Linked DNA regions of Homo sapiens: region 1 is linked to region 2. The links are contacts of gene promoters, found by promoter capture Hi-C in human tissues and cell types (Jung and others, 2019). All regions are on one chromosome and are shown on one strand. The core of a region is centred on a gene start or on the middle of the fragment in contact, and the rest is flanking DNA. Distances in the headings are between cores, read along the strand shown.

Region 1 (6,744 bases), core at 3,585-6,084, 400 kb before region 2:
AATATTTACTTGTATAATATCTGTAACTTGCTTAAATACTTCAGCAAAGTCAGCATATTTACTCATTCAACAAATATTTGAGCCAGGCATTATTTTAGACACAGCAGTGAACAAAACAAAAAGGCATTCTTGCCTTCATGGAGCTTACATTCTTATTGTTATTTAAATCTAAATGTTATAAAACAAGAATTTATATTCTAGGGTTGATCAGCTAGTATTTAATCAAAAAGGCCACACTCCCATAGCAGCTACTCTAAGCTGTAGTAGCTAATAAAAAATATTAATGTTGGCCGGGCACAGTGGCTCACGCCTATAATCCCAGCACTTTGGGAGGCCAAGGGTGGTAGATCACTTGAGGTCAAGAGTTGTGACACCAGCCTGGCCAACCTGGTGAAACCCTATCTCTATTAAAAAATACAAAAAAATACAAAAAAATTAGCTGGGCATGTTGGCATGCACCTGTAGTCCCAGCTATTTGGGAGGCTGAGGCACGAGAATTGCTTGAATCCGGGAGGTGGAGGTTGCAGTGAGCCAAGATGGGGCCACTGCACTCTAACGTGGGCAACAGAGACCCTGTCTCAAAAAGAAAATATTCCTGTTAGCCCTAAAGGCTTTACATGAGGAATGGTAGAAGTGGTCTTTTGTTTAAATTAGTTGCATTCAGCATATATGAATTGTCTTAAATATTTTGGGGATACTCCCCCGCCTTTTAAACAGGGCATAAGATCTGGTAAACTCTCTGTATATCTTCCTACCTTTCAAAATCGTTCTTAGGGTTAGTCAAGTCTGGAATATAATTGCTGACTATAAAGTTAGCAATTATGCTTTTAAGGTGTTGTCACATCAACCTAAAGAGAACCATCTATGGAAGGTATGGTTGAAACATCTGTAGGAACACAGAACTGGGATTTCACTGAGTTTACCAAATCAACTGTGTGAACTGTTTCTGCACTGCTTGCTAATGGTTTCATCTAATAAATGTTTACTTATATAGCTGAGTTTGGTTTTATTCTAACAAATTACCTGGTGGTGTGATTGTGAGGTGATTAACAGTTCTCACATAGTTTACTGTTAGGTCACACACAGACTTCCGATCATAATCCATACTGCCTTTTTGAGCCTAAAATCAGCCTACTACCACAATTACCAAATATTCTGAAAATTTCTAGTATGGTGAAGATGGAGAGATCTTGGTGTGAAGGTTAATTTTATATGTCATCTTGATTATGCTAGGAGATGCCCAGATTTCTGGGTTTGTCCATGAGGGTGTTTCCAGAAGAGATTAGCATTTGAATCAGTAGACTGAATAAAAAAGAGCCACCCACTCCACTGCGGGTGGGCCAACCCCTTGAGGGCCTAGCTGGAATAAAAAGGCAGAGGAAGGGCAAATTCTGTCTTCTCTCTGCTTGAACAGGGACATCCATGTTCTATCCTTGGACATTGGTTCTCCTGATTCTCTGGCTTTCAGACATGGACCAGGGCCCCTGGTTCTCAGACCTTTGGGTTTGGACTGGAACTACACCATTGGCTTTCCTGGGCTTACTGTCTGCGGAAAGCAGATTGTGGGACTTCTCAGCCTCCATAATCACAAGAGCCAATCCCTCATAATAAATTTATTTCTATATATATCCTGTTGATTCTCTTTCTATGGCAAACCCTGACTTAGTAATATGACATGACTGTAATTGGCATTTTCAAAATGGTGGCAGTATGAAGGCTGAATCTTTCCTATAGGTAAGAAATTGTACCTACCATTAAACTGTGCCATAGCAAGTATAGTGACTGCTTACATTGCCCTCAGTTTGAAGGCTTTTAAGAAGTGGATAAATGGAACGCCAAGAAAAGTTGCAAACTTGCTAAGATAACAAAACAAAAAAGACATCAAAAGAAAATGTGACTTTACTCTGATAAATTCTTTTGTAAATTTCACACCATTTTATATAAAGTGAAATGATTGTTTTAGTAGTTCCTTTTGAAATGAACTGGCTTGTTAGCAGTTGCAAGGGATAGTTTTTAGGGAGCTTAACCTGAACGTTTTAGGATGTAAAGAGCTGCAAATACTCAGTCCGTAAGTGGCATGGGAGTACATTTGGAGACTTCAGCCTGTGAGCTAAGAATATTTTTTACATTTTAAAATGGAGAAAAAAAAAACTTTCATGACATGAAAGTTATATGCAATCTGGATTTCTATGTTGACAAAGTTTTACTGGAAAACAGCCATGCTCATTCATTTACATATTGTTTATGGCTGCTTTCACATTACAAAGGCAGAGTTGAGTAGTTATTACAGAAATATTATGGTCCACAAAGCCTAAATTATTTTCTATCTTTATAGAAAGTTTGCCAACTCCTTTTCTAAGGAGCTGTGCTTTAGACCTTGCTGGAGTTTAACTCCTAGGATCTCCTGTGATAACCGTTTATGATCAGTGAAATTCCAAGTACCCGCGACTTAACATGTCCCAAAATAATCCACGTTGGTGGGAGGGTGACACACAGTTCATGAATGCAAAGAGAAGTCCAATCATATAAACTTAAAAATCAGTTTATCTTAAAATTTTTTTGAATTAGAAGAAATTGATTTCACATGAAAATATAACATTCTGAAGGTAAGTATTTTAAACATTACAACTGTTGGCTGAAATATTTACAAAGTTATAATAAGCTTATAACTGGATGAAAGCATCTATAAAAATAAATAGGCACCCTAGATGTAAAACTTTTACATGAAATAAAATGATTAGTATATATGTATCAATCTGTATCTGGAGTGTTGAATCAACAAAAATAAATGGGCATTTTCTAGTTTGTGTAGTAGTACATGAGTCAGGAGGTTTCAACTGGACAGTACTTAAAAGAGGCAAAACTGGACATTTCTATTTGATATCTACAACTCAACTGAGTTGAAAAGACAAATGTCTGAGACTGCTGTTAAATACAAAAATTAGTTTAAATGTTTCAAATAATACATTTCCAACTCACATCTTAACCAAATAGAAAAAAAAAACTACACAAACTGTGAAAGCTATTAAAAAACTTGAAGCCCATTTTTCTAGTATCTTACAATGTTATAAAAGAAGAAAAACTTTGGTATTTTAAATACAGGTTTACAAACTTTACATTATTTACAAACCCTCCACACTAAAAAATTATGTTAAAAATAAGCTTTCTTAAAACAAAATTAATTTGGCATTCAAGTATTTCTAACTTACGAGAATATAAAGTAATGATCACTCACTATTATAGTTTAAAAAGGCTAGTAAAAACTATAGGCAGAAGATAAAATTTGGCCAAGACTTGGTAACTGGGTGAAGTTAGACTTTTATAAGCAATTATTTTCTGTTTAACAGTATTCACATTAAATTAGTTACAACATTTTAGAATGTTTTAACACGATTTACGCAATCAGTCAAGTGGCTACATTTACTAGTTTATTGAATATGAGGTTTATCCATTTAGCAATGTAAGGAAAACTTTAGTTCTGTTTCTCAGTTATCAGGAGTGAACATAAAACTATTCTAAACCACAATTAGTTTACCAGCATAGTACAAAATAAAATGACAACTAACGAAATAAAGCAATTAAAGTAACTTATTTTTACTCATAAGGTTACCATAATAATAAAAATTCCTTTAATTTTCAAAGCACTCTTCATGAAAAGTAGTTGGGGTAAAATTACTATTTGTTCAAAGTAGAATAAAAGGGAAGGATGCTCTAATTAAACATTTTATTAAAATTAAACTCTCTATATGAAAGGTAGAAATTTAATCTGGAAACCTAGATAGATTTTCAAATTCAGATAAAATGGGTTGACAACCTATAAGCAGGTAATATTACAGCAAAGAAAATGTAGGCAATTACAGTGACATTCCCAATAAGAGGGTGCCCTACATTAATTCCTAACACTGGTGGTTAGCAGCCCAAAGTAAACCAAACCAAAATAAAGACCTTTCACATTTCATATAAAATTAGAAAAAAAGTAACGAGATAAATAAATACACTAAAGTTTAAGTATTTTAACTTTTTAACTTACATGGCTAAAGTAGCATTTATGAATACCTATAATAGTCAAAGGCCTAATTTATCTTAACTAGATATTCTGAAGACAAAAATTCTAGGAGCAAAATTAAATTCCATCCGATCTTGAAAACTTACAAATTGTTAATCATATAAGGCTTTTTTTCCCCAAATGCTATCAAATTCATAAGTCATTTTTTTTAAAGACACTTAAAGGGATCATATGCAGTGACTATCATAGAAGTCAAAAACAAATGGGTGAAGCCCTTTTCTGGTTACCCATTAGAAAGTGCTTCTTCATAAAGCAATTCTTTGACAAAAAAGTACCAGGCTATGTATCACCTGGTACTTTTCAATTAGCATAGTTTATAATCTCCATACATGAGTACTGGTTAGTTTAATACTTCCCAGTCTACTGGCCACAAAATAGGGGGACAAATTTAATTTTTATTCAACTGTAGCATATGACAAATGAATTATTATATCTCCCTGATTTTCTATTTTTCACGGCACGCCAAGACTATTCAAAGGGAATTTCTAAAATATCTAAGATATTGATCATAAAATTATATATGTGTATACACATATACACATACATATGTATAGTGATTAACAACTTTAAAAATGCCACAGGCTTTAATTTTATGTATCACTAGGTTTGGTCAGTAGGTTCCTATTATATTTAAATGGCCTCTGAGAAGTAAAAGTTGGTCAGTTTTACCAGTTATCTATTACAATGTATGCTAGGTTTATATCTTTGTTCAGAAGGGCAGCTTGAACCAAGATTATTATGTAACACAGGTCTAGTCCTTTTTCACTCTAAGATAGTGAATTATTACAAAAGCCACTGCTCTCTGGAAAAGAGAGCTTGGGCCTCTGATGGTATTTCAATCTATATGTATCCGTCATGCAGCTATCAACTGAAAAATAGGTAGTTAATGAAACTGTCTCATTTGGACAGGTAGAAATAGAGTCTAGTTCTGGTTGGCAAAATGCATCAATGGCACCTGAGTTTGCCTGAAAATCGTTAGTTGAGGAGCTGGATGGACAGTTTGGTGTGTTGCCAAAACATTCTCTCACTTGAAATGTTTCTTTATGTCTTTCATCATTCATATGTGTACTCACTTCTAAACTTGGTTCTGAAGCTGTACTTAAACTGTGCTTCGGAAGATGAGAGGTAGCTTTAAACACCTCTGTAAGTTTGACATCAGGTGTAGATTCGCTTTTCTCTGACTGTGGCACACTGGTTATAGCATATTTCTTTGGTGGCAAAGGGGGTGGTAGATTCTGGCAAAAAAGTTTTGGCATCTGACACCCATCAGATCTGCTGGCTGACCGAATTATACATTCTGTGGATAGAGAGTTCTCAAAGTAACATTGATCCATGATATTTTGTTGCTGGATGAGAGGAGCAGTTTCTGGCTTTAACCCAACAGTTCTTAGGTGTGAAGACCATAATGAAGATGGTTCATTACTGTTCACTCTCTTCCCAGAAGCAGAGTTATCAACGTGAAAAGGCAAACCTGTTCTCTCAGAATTTTCTATATTAAGCCACTCAGAAAATTTGCATTCATTCGGTTTTTCAAGTTTCTGTTCATCTGACTGGTGGATATGTTCTCTTGCATTATGGTCCTTGGGTATTTGTAGACTGGATGAAGGAAATAACTTTCCATTGTCTTCATGTACATGTGATCTGAAATATGAAAATAAAAACAAAGCTAGAACACCCTATGCAAATATATGAAACTAGGGGAAAATAAACATTTGTTTTGTAGTTTGATTTTCCCAAAATACAGTTTATATTATTTTTACAACAAAACCACAAAAATGGAAAGATATTTGCAACCATTAACATTTTCAACTCTCTCCAAATCCAAACTCTTTATGTCAGAATATGTGAGTGTTTACCAGAAACACCCATCATTACCAGAATCCCATTTCTAATAATTAGAAATATAATTTTAAAAACTCACTTCAACTCAAAACACTAAAATTACATTTATTTGTAACAATATATAGAACTTGAGGAAAGTGTTAACAGTCAAACAGTACTCTAAAACATCTCCCCACCAACATTCCAAACTTTAAAGGCAATAGAGGTAGAAGTACTTAAATTTTGATATATAGCAGTATAGTATATTAATTACTTTATTATATTTTGCAAATATATTTATATTATATTTGAGGGTCTTGCTATGTTGCCTAGGCTGGCTTTAAACTGGCCTCAAGTGATCCTGCTGCCTCAGCCTCCTCAGTAGCTAGGATTACAGACATGTACCACCACATCACACCTGGCTGTATAATAGTTTAAAATAATGTAATCAAGATTATCTTTAGGTAATAGTTATTTTCTAAGGTGAGGGTAAATGATGCCATATTGCAAATTATTTTTCTTATATGAATTATGTGGAATTGAATTAGAATGCAATGGTTAAAGAGAGTTGAGGATTTGCTAGGTAGATGGAGCTATAATCAAATCTCAGCTCGATAGTTTTGGTCACATTACTTAACCTAAGCTTCAAATTTTCTCTTGTAAAATATCACCTACCTCATAAGAATGCTGTGAGGATTGAAACAGACAATCAGATACTGTACCTGGTACTTTGTAAGCTCTCTATCCTTAGATCCACATTGTATTAATGATTCCCAATAAGAAAGGCATCTCAATACTATAGACCCATTGCTTTCAAAGTAATAATATGTATTTATGCCCTTCTGATAAACAACGTG
Region 2 (7,396 bases), core at 2,683-5,182:
TTGAACTAAATTCAGTAGAACACATACTATAGTGGTGCATAAGATTTGAAGAAAAAATAAATTTCTAACTATATTAAAACATATAAAGGATAAACAGTCTGAACATTTTTTTCTTAATTATTTTCAAAATGTGAGTAATTTTTCAATTGCAGGTAAGATTTTTTGTAAAACAAAAATTTCTCCCCACTCCTTTATATGAGGATTTTTCAAAGTGATTTGCCAAAAGTATGTCCTGAGACAGGGCCAGATAAGTACATGTCCCAAAAGAGAGAGTTTCATAAAGAAGAAGTGCTCACATTCTTTTTGTAAAGCTATCTGCACACACAGTGGGGTTTTCTGTTTGGATAAATTTGTTTCTGTTTATAATCTCTTGAAAATATACTTTGCAGAGTGTTATGCTATAACTCAGTGTTAGAAATGTTTGCCTCCCATCACATATATTTAGAATATAAATTAAAAGATATACAAACATTTTAAAAACAAGCTTATGTTACTGATTACTTGGGCTTTTAAAAATTTGGTTTATTTTTTAAAACAAAACAGATTTTCGTGCCATTGAGCTTAACCGTCAATGACAAGTTTTGATAATGAATATTCCTGTTATTTATCTTTAAAATTTGGGGTTTGCGTATAGTTCAACCAGCTAACCAAATACTAAACATGTTTGAACATATCTCAGAAGTGACTAAATATGTCAATATAAGGATATTTATCGGGAATTATAAAGTTATTCAATTTTTTATTGTTCTTAATAACATTAGACTGTTTTTTTGCACTATTTCTGCCTGTTAGATTTTTACTCTATATAGAATTATGAAAAACCTAAATATGTAGATATTTCACAAAAAGCCAAAATGTGTTATTGTCTACAGAACTGCTTTGTAGCATTCCCATTTTAAGGAGCATGGTTCAAGCACTCGCCGAAATTTTCTTTTCTTTGAAAATTTAAGTTTTCCTTCAACTCCCAAATTAATTTTGTGCATGTTATTCAAAACTGTGAACATTTGATTTGACAGCAACCATCTCTCTAGCCTTTCTGTCTCTTTCCTTGCATCCAGCCCTAATAAGCTATCACCAGTCCTTACAAGAAGAGAAAGTTTATGCCCAAGCAACATTCACTTTGCCTTGAACACATTGAGATACCATGAATAGAATTGAATTGACTTAATATTTTAAATAAAATACAGTGATCCTAATGAGGCAATGGCCTTGATAACAGAGAAAGTGATAAGCGCTTTGTTCCAAGGGATTTCTCCCACAAATAATGCTAGTATAAGAAATCAAACATAATCATTTGAACTAAAAAAAGAAAAAGACCAACAAAAATTGTGCATTGCCACAGTAATTTAGAACTTACATCTTCTATAGATAGCTCTTTAGTCTTTTTAACGTATGGACAAAAGGTAGACTGTAGACTACAGTCTGTCTCTCTCTCTCTCTTGCACACACAAACACACAAAAATTAAGGCAAACTTCCAGATACTTTTATAATGATATTTTAAAATCTATAGCTCTAAGTATAGTATCACAAACTACAAAAGCAAAGCAAACATCTAGATGCCTTAATAATGATCTTTTGAAAACCACAAATGTATTGCTGGGTATTTTAGGAAGGATGATTTAGGGGGAGTGTAGGACTGGATTCTGACATAGCCTAACAACCTTACTGAATCCTGAAAATAGAGATGCCATTAGCAGAGAATCTCCACAGCACCCTTTCCTAGCAATCTGCTTCAGCTCTTCAGTGAATCGCCGCAAAGAGGTCCCACATTGAAATCGTCACATGCAGAACTCAGAAGAAACCCACTACCCACTCTATTCTTGAGGCCTGGCTGCCAAAGAGCCACCAGAGAACAACAGCACTCAGCCACTCTGTCCCCATATTTCAATTAGTAGGCAAGCGATTCTAAAACTGTACACTATCAGGATCGTAGAATACTTGGGCAAGACAGAGCTTCGTAGACTGCACAGTCCAATTTCTTTCTTACTTCTTTACCACCTAAGTTAAAATATTTGTCTCTCTCTCCCTACACACACACACACACACACACAGAGAGAGAGAGAGAGAGAGAGAGAGAGAGAGAGAGAAACCGATGAGACAGGAAGGGTGAGAGATTTTCCTAAGGCCAGGCTGCAAGTTAGATCAGAGCTGGAATTAGAACCCAAATCTCATACCTAGAGCCAGCCAACTGCTATTCTAGACTCAGGACAAATCTGCTTCAGTGTCATGAATTCTACATATGCTAAATTGGGCATTCATATTTTATCTGAGGTTGCCTGCTATTGACTCCTAAAGGAACCCAACAAAACCACCTTTCTGAGCCTTTAATCACTCTGCCAGTTCCAAGCTGAAAACTTAAGGCAAGTTACTTAACATCTCTGGGCTCTTTCCTCATCTAAAATTCATGGGTTGAACTGCAGACCTCGGAGGAACTTTCCAGTAATAAAAACTCTGCTTTTCATCTACTGTTTTATGGTTCATTCTTGATGTTTGCAATTTTCACTAGGTGGCAGGATTCCACCATCACATTACGAAAGGATTTACATATGATGCCTGGAAGCAAAAAGGAGTTTCAAAGAAACTTCTTTCTTCGCAAAGGACACTAAAAAAAAAAAAACGTAAAAGGCAGAGGGAAACAATAACTACAAAAAAAAAAGAGTAAAAGCCAGAGGGAAACAAACAATAACTACAAAGGCAATGGCCCATGTATTTCATAAAGATCTGTACCCATTTTTAATATAAGCATAAAATAGGAAATTAATCCCATGCTCTTGCATGTTCTTCAATACAATACTATAATTTGCAATTTGATGATAAGGTTAGGTAAAAGTTTGCTTAGTTTTGTGCATTTTAAGTTTTATTTTAGCTGAATGCCAATTAGAGAATACCAGATCCCCTTGGGCTAACCAGTAATGCAGGCAATCTAATGGCAATAAAAACTTAAAGCATTTTAAATAGTTATTAATGTGTTACAAAGTTACCTCTTAGTTACTCATAATATATTTAGATTATCTTCTAAGTTTATTTTTGAGATCTTGACCAAAAGAGTACATAAGAAGGAATACAGCATTTATTGGATTTTTGCATTTATTTGTCAAATCCTTAAAAGGGTATTCTTTTAAATAGATTTTATGACACTTCATCATACTTTTAAAATTATTGCCCAACATTGGCCTTTTCATGAATGCTGCATAATAAATGTCACTACCAACACTCTATATGAGTCCCCAAAATAGCCAAGCAAAGTCGTTATGCTGAACTGAGCGTTTCTCCTCTGCCAGAGCCAAGTGAAGTGACATCAAACAATAACTCAACTGAACATTCTAAAATTGCCTGGAAGAAACGCTCCCCAGTGTCTTGCTTGTTGTCAGAAGAACATGGTTAACTAGGCCTTTTCCTCAGCTGATAAATATGGCATTCTTCCCACCCACCCCTCATCGATTGCAAGTTAATTACATAGGATGTGGCCCATTACTCTCCAAAGTTTCTTAGAAAATAACTCACTTCCTAGAAAAATCTTAATATCCGCAGCAAAATCAAATAATACTTAGACTTCTGCATCAGAACCTGAAAACACCATCAGCAGGTTGCTTTCATTCCTTCCTTCCTAGCACAGAGCCGTGACACTTCGTTCAGGTCCTACCTTTGCAACTTGTAAGGGCTGCTTCTGCTCCTTGCCACCTTGCAATCTGAACCCCCAGGGCGCCCCTCCAGTCATGGAAATGCAGATAAAATCCCCTGTGCCCATGTTTTCCTTTTAGTTGGGCAGCATGAAGAGCTTGACGAGACAGACGAAGCTTGGGTGCGGTAGAGGATGCGCACTCAGCTTCGGGCGCCTGCCGAGGACGCAAGACTGGGTAATGCAGAGCGTCCGCCGCTGCTGCAGCCGCTGCCCCAGCCGCCGCCCCAGCCGCCTGCTGCGAATTTGTGCGGCTAATGGGCTCATTCTCAAGGAGGCAGAGGCGCTCGCAGCATCCAGGACACAGCCCACTCTTGCGTCACTCTCCTTTGCTCGGCCCACCTTCGAGGAAAGGAAAGCAGCTTCACACACAGGAGAATGTCCTCACGTGGGGCGAGATAAGGGAAAGGAGGACGGAAGGGAGAGCCAAAGTTATCTTGCACTAACAGATTAAATCCAAGCAGTTAATGGTATAAGTATGATTGAAAAACTTACATTTAATAATTCTGTAAATAGTAAAGGACACATGAAGGTTTAATCTCCACGCCATGAATGACGTCCTAAAATAGGAGCGTTGGGAATTCAACTACTAGAGGATTAGATTCTCTCAAATAAATGTTTTGAGACTTGCCACATTTATGAATGGAATAGACAAAAAAGAGTTAAAATGAGTTAAATTACTACTTTTCTGTCTGCATTCTGCTGAATTATTCCTATAAGAGGAAACAAAAGAAAGCACAAACTTTTTGTTAATAAACCTCCAGCTCTGAAAAGTACCTTTCTGAACCATATATTTAGAGAAAGGGGAAGAGAAGAGACAGAAAGGGAGAGAGAAAGAGAGAAAATGAATATGAATTTTTCTCCTGGAAACTACATTCTTATAATTACATCTATTGCATAGTTTTGGGTATGTTAAATTTTAACGTGTTTTGTTTTCTTTCTACCTGCTGATCTTCTTAAACCCAAACCCAACAGTTAGTCAACTGCATAAAATGTACAATGTCACCTACAGGTTTCTTATTTTTATAGTTTGTCATCCCATGTCATGAATCTGGGTGGTCCAATATAAAAGCAGATTTTGTATATTCCAAATATTTAAATGTTTTAAATCTGAATACAATCTGCCAAAAATGTACAAAAAGGACATTTTAATTTTCCTATAATACTTTTGTTTTCCATAACATTCATCCACATAAAAACATACTAAATAAGGAAGAGCCTGGGAAAGTTTGTTTGTGTTACTTGTGGTACCAAACAAAATTTCCAGACACGCTGCCTGTTTCAGCACTAAGAAGCACTATATACAGTAAGTCCTCACTTAAAACGTCACAGATAGGTTCATGGAAACTGTGACTTTAAAACCAATTTTACCATCGACTAATTGATAAAAACAAGGTTAAGTGACTACAGTCTATTTCTGGTCACAAAGACATCACCAAACTTTTAAATAAGATTAAAACACTTCTAATATTAAACATGGAAATAAATGTCAGCTACACATGCATTTAAGAAAGATTAATAAAAACAAGATAATCATGGACCCAATTTTTGGTGAATCAGTGAGTGAGGGCAGCTGTAGTGGTGGTGGATTCAATCAAGGAATAAATGTTTGCAAAAGGAAAATTATAAGGAGTACCTCCTGTCACAATGCAGTTCAAAACCACCACAAATATAGCAGGCTCACTGAGAAATTTCATACAGCATCATCTATTGCTGTGCATTTGTGTGATTAACATATATTTTATGAATTTTTTTTGAAAATAATTTGCATCCATACATTCATTCCTCCTCCAACCCACTTATTCCCATTCAGGATCTCCAGTGGCTTGAGCCTCTCCCTGCAGCTTAGGGCGCAAGGCAGGAATCAGCCCTGGACAGCCCTGACCATCCCATCAGAGGGTGCACACACACACACACACACACACACACACACACACACTCACTCAGATGGGGACCATTTAGACATGCCAGTTCATCTCATGAGCACAGCTTTGGGATGTGGCAGGAAACCAGAGGACCTGGAGAAAACCTATACAGACATGGGGAGAACTTTCAAACTCCATACAAACAGTGGCCCCAGCTGGAAATACATTTTTTTTTCTCATCAATGTTGTCATGAAACAATGTTGAATAAAATGGCATTATTCAAGGACCTGTGGTACAATGAACATTTTACACAGCCCATGCTCCCCAGAAGCCAAAGGCATCAAGTGATTTTATTTGTGACTCATCACTGGAGTGAGGACAATGAAATCAGAGATTGTGGCACTGGAAGAGACCCTTTGAAGGTCATGAGGGCCAGATACTCATCCCAAGTTTGATTCTTTTCAGAAACACGAATTGACTTTCCCAGTCTTTCCTTTAAACAATAGTTACAAGAGACATCATAAAATATGAGCTTTGACACTAATTACAATAGCAAAGACTTGGAACCAACCCAAATGTCCATCAGTGATAGACTGGATAAAGAAAATATGGCACATATACACCATGGAATACTATGCAGCCATAAAAAAAGAATGTGTTAATGTCCTTTGCAGGGGACATGGATGAAGCTGGAAGCCATCATTCTCAGCAAACTAGCACAGGAACAGTAAACCAAACACCACATGTTCTCACTCATAAGTGGGAGTTGAACAATGAGAACACATAGACACAGGGAGGGAAACATCACACACTGAGGCCTGTCGGAGGGTGGGGTACAAAGGGAGGGAGAGCATTACGACACATAACGCATGCGGGGCTTAAAACCTAGATGACGGGTTGATAGGTGCAGCAAACAACCATGGCACATGTATACCTATGTAACAAACCTGCATGTTCTGCACATGTATCCCAGAACTTAAAGTAAAAATTTTTAAAAAATGAGCTCTGAGAACAAAGAAAAAAAACACTTTCATATTTGTTCTTTTTACTTTTTCATGTCCCTTCTGCTCCTCAATCCACTCAAGTCTAGCTTCAAATTAGTGATGGTGTCCTCCTTAAATCATTTCTCCCTTAGGCTTCTTGGGCCCAGCAAGCTCTAGGCTTTCTTCTTGCCTCTGTAGCCACTCTTATCAAAGATTTATTCTGTGCAGGAACTTGAAATATAATGTTGTATTTATTTTCAAAGCAACCATGCTAGATAGGTATTAGTGTTTCTCTTTTACTGATAATTAACAGTGCTTTAAATCCTAAGCGATAGAGCCAGGGTTTGAACTTTTGTCTGCCCGAATTTGTCTGCCCTAATACCTATTCTTAATCATTGCTATTCTGCCTCCAGGTCTTATGTATTCCCTGATGCTTATCTCATGCAACCAATTATCCATTAAGACCTATGGATCTGGCTATGCGCAGTGCTGCATGCCTGTAATCCCAGCATTTGGGGAAGACAAGGTGGGCAAGGTGGGTGGATCACTTGAGGTCAGGAGCTCAAGACCAGCCTGGCCAACATGGTGAAACCCCATCTCTACCAAAAGTACAAAAATTAGCTGGGCGTGGTGGTGCACACCTGTAATCCCAGCTACTCGGGAGGCTGAGGCAAGAGAATTGCTTGAACCTGGGAGGCAGAGGTTGCAGTGAGCCGAGACCGTACCACTGCACTCCAGCCTGGGCAATAGAGCAAGACTCCATCTGAGAAAGAAAAAAAAAAAAAAAGACCTATGGATCTAACTTCTAAATAGTTTGGAAATCTGCTCCTTCCCTCATTTCCTACTCCTGGGACCATGTCTATCTCT

What was found. Contacts are between HindIII fragments. The study calls those that stand out against the background at their distance.
Region 1: a fragment that was not itself captured here is called in contact with the fragment with the promoter of SYNPO2 in region 2 in 1 of the 25 tissues and cell types used here (aorta).

The regions. Positions count from the first base shown.
Region 1 is chr4:119,291,301-119,298,044 of GRCh38, reverse strand. USP53 (ubiquitin specific peptidase 53) reads right to left here. Exons shown (of 19, transcript NM_001371395.1): 19 at 2,527-5,707. The coding sequence ends at 4,834. It overlaps ARLN (allregulin), which reads left to right. Exons shown (of 2, transcript NM_001001701.4): 2 at 1-1,626. Among named protein-coding and RNA genes, the nearest start is that of ARLN, 6.0 kb to the left of the region's middle. The HindIII fragment of the contact is 3,844 bases long and covers 2,913-6,744 here.
Region 2 is chr4:118,885,390-118,892,785 of GRCh38, reverse strand. It overlaps SYNPO2 (synaptopodin 2), which reads right to left and starts at 3,932. Exons shown (of 5, transcript NM_133477.3): 1 at 3,645-3,932. The coding sequence starts at 3,749. The HindIII fragment of the contact is 17,765 bases long and covers 2,142-7,396 here.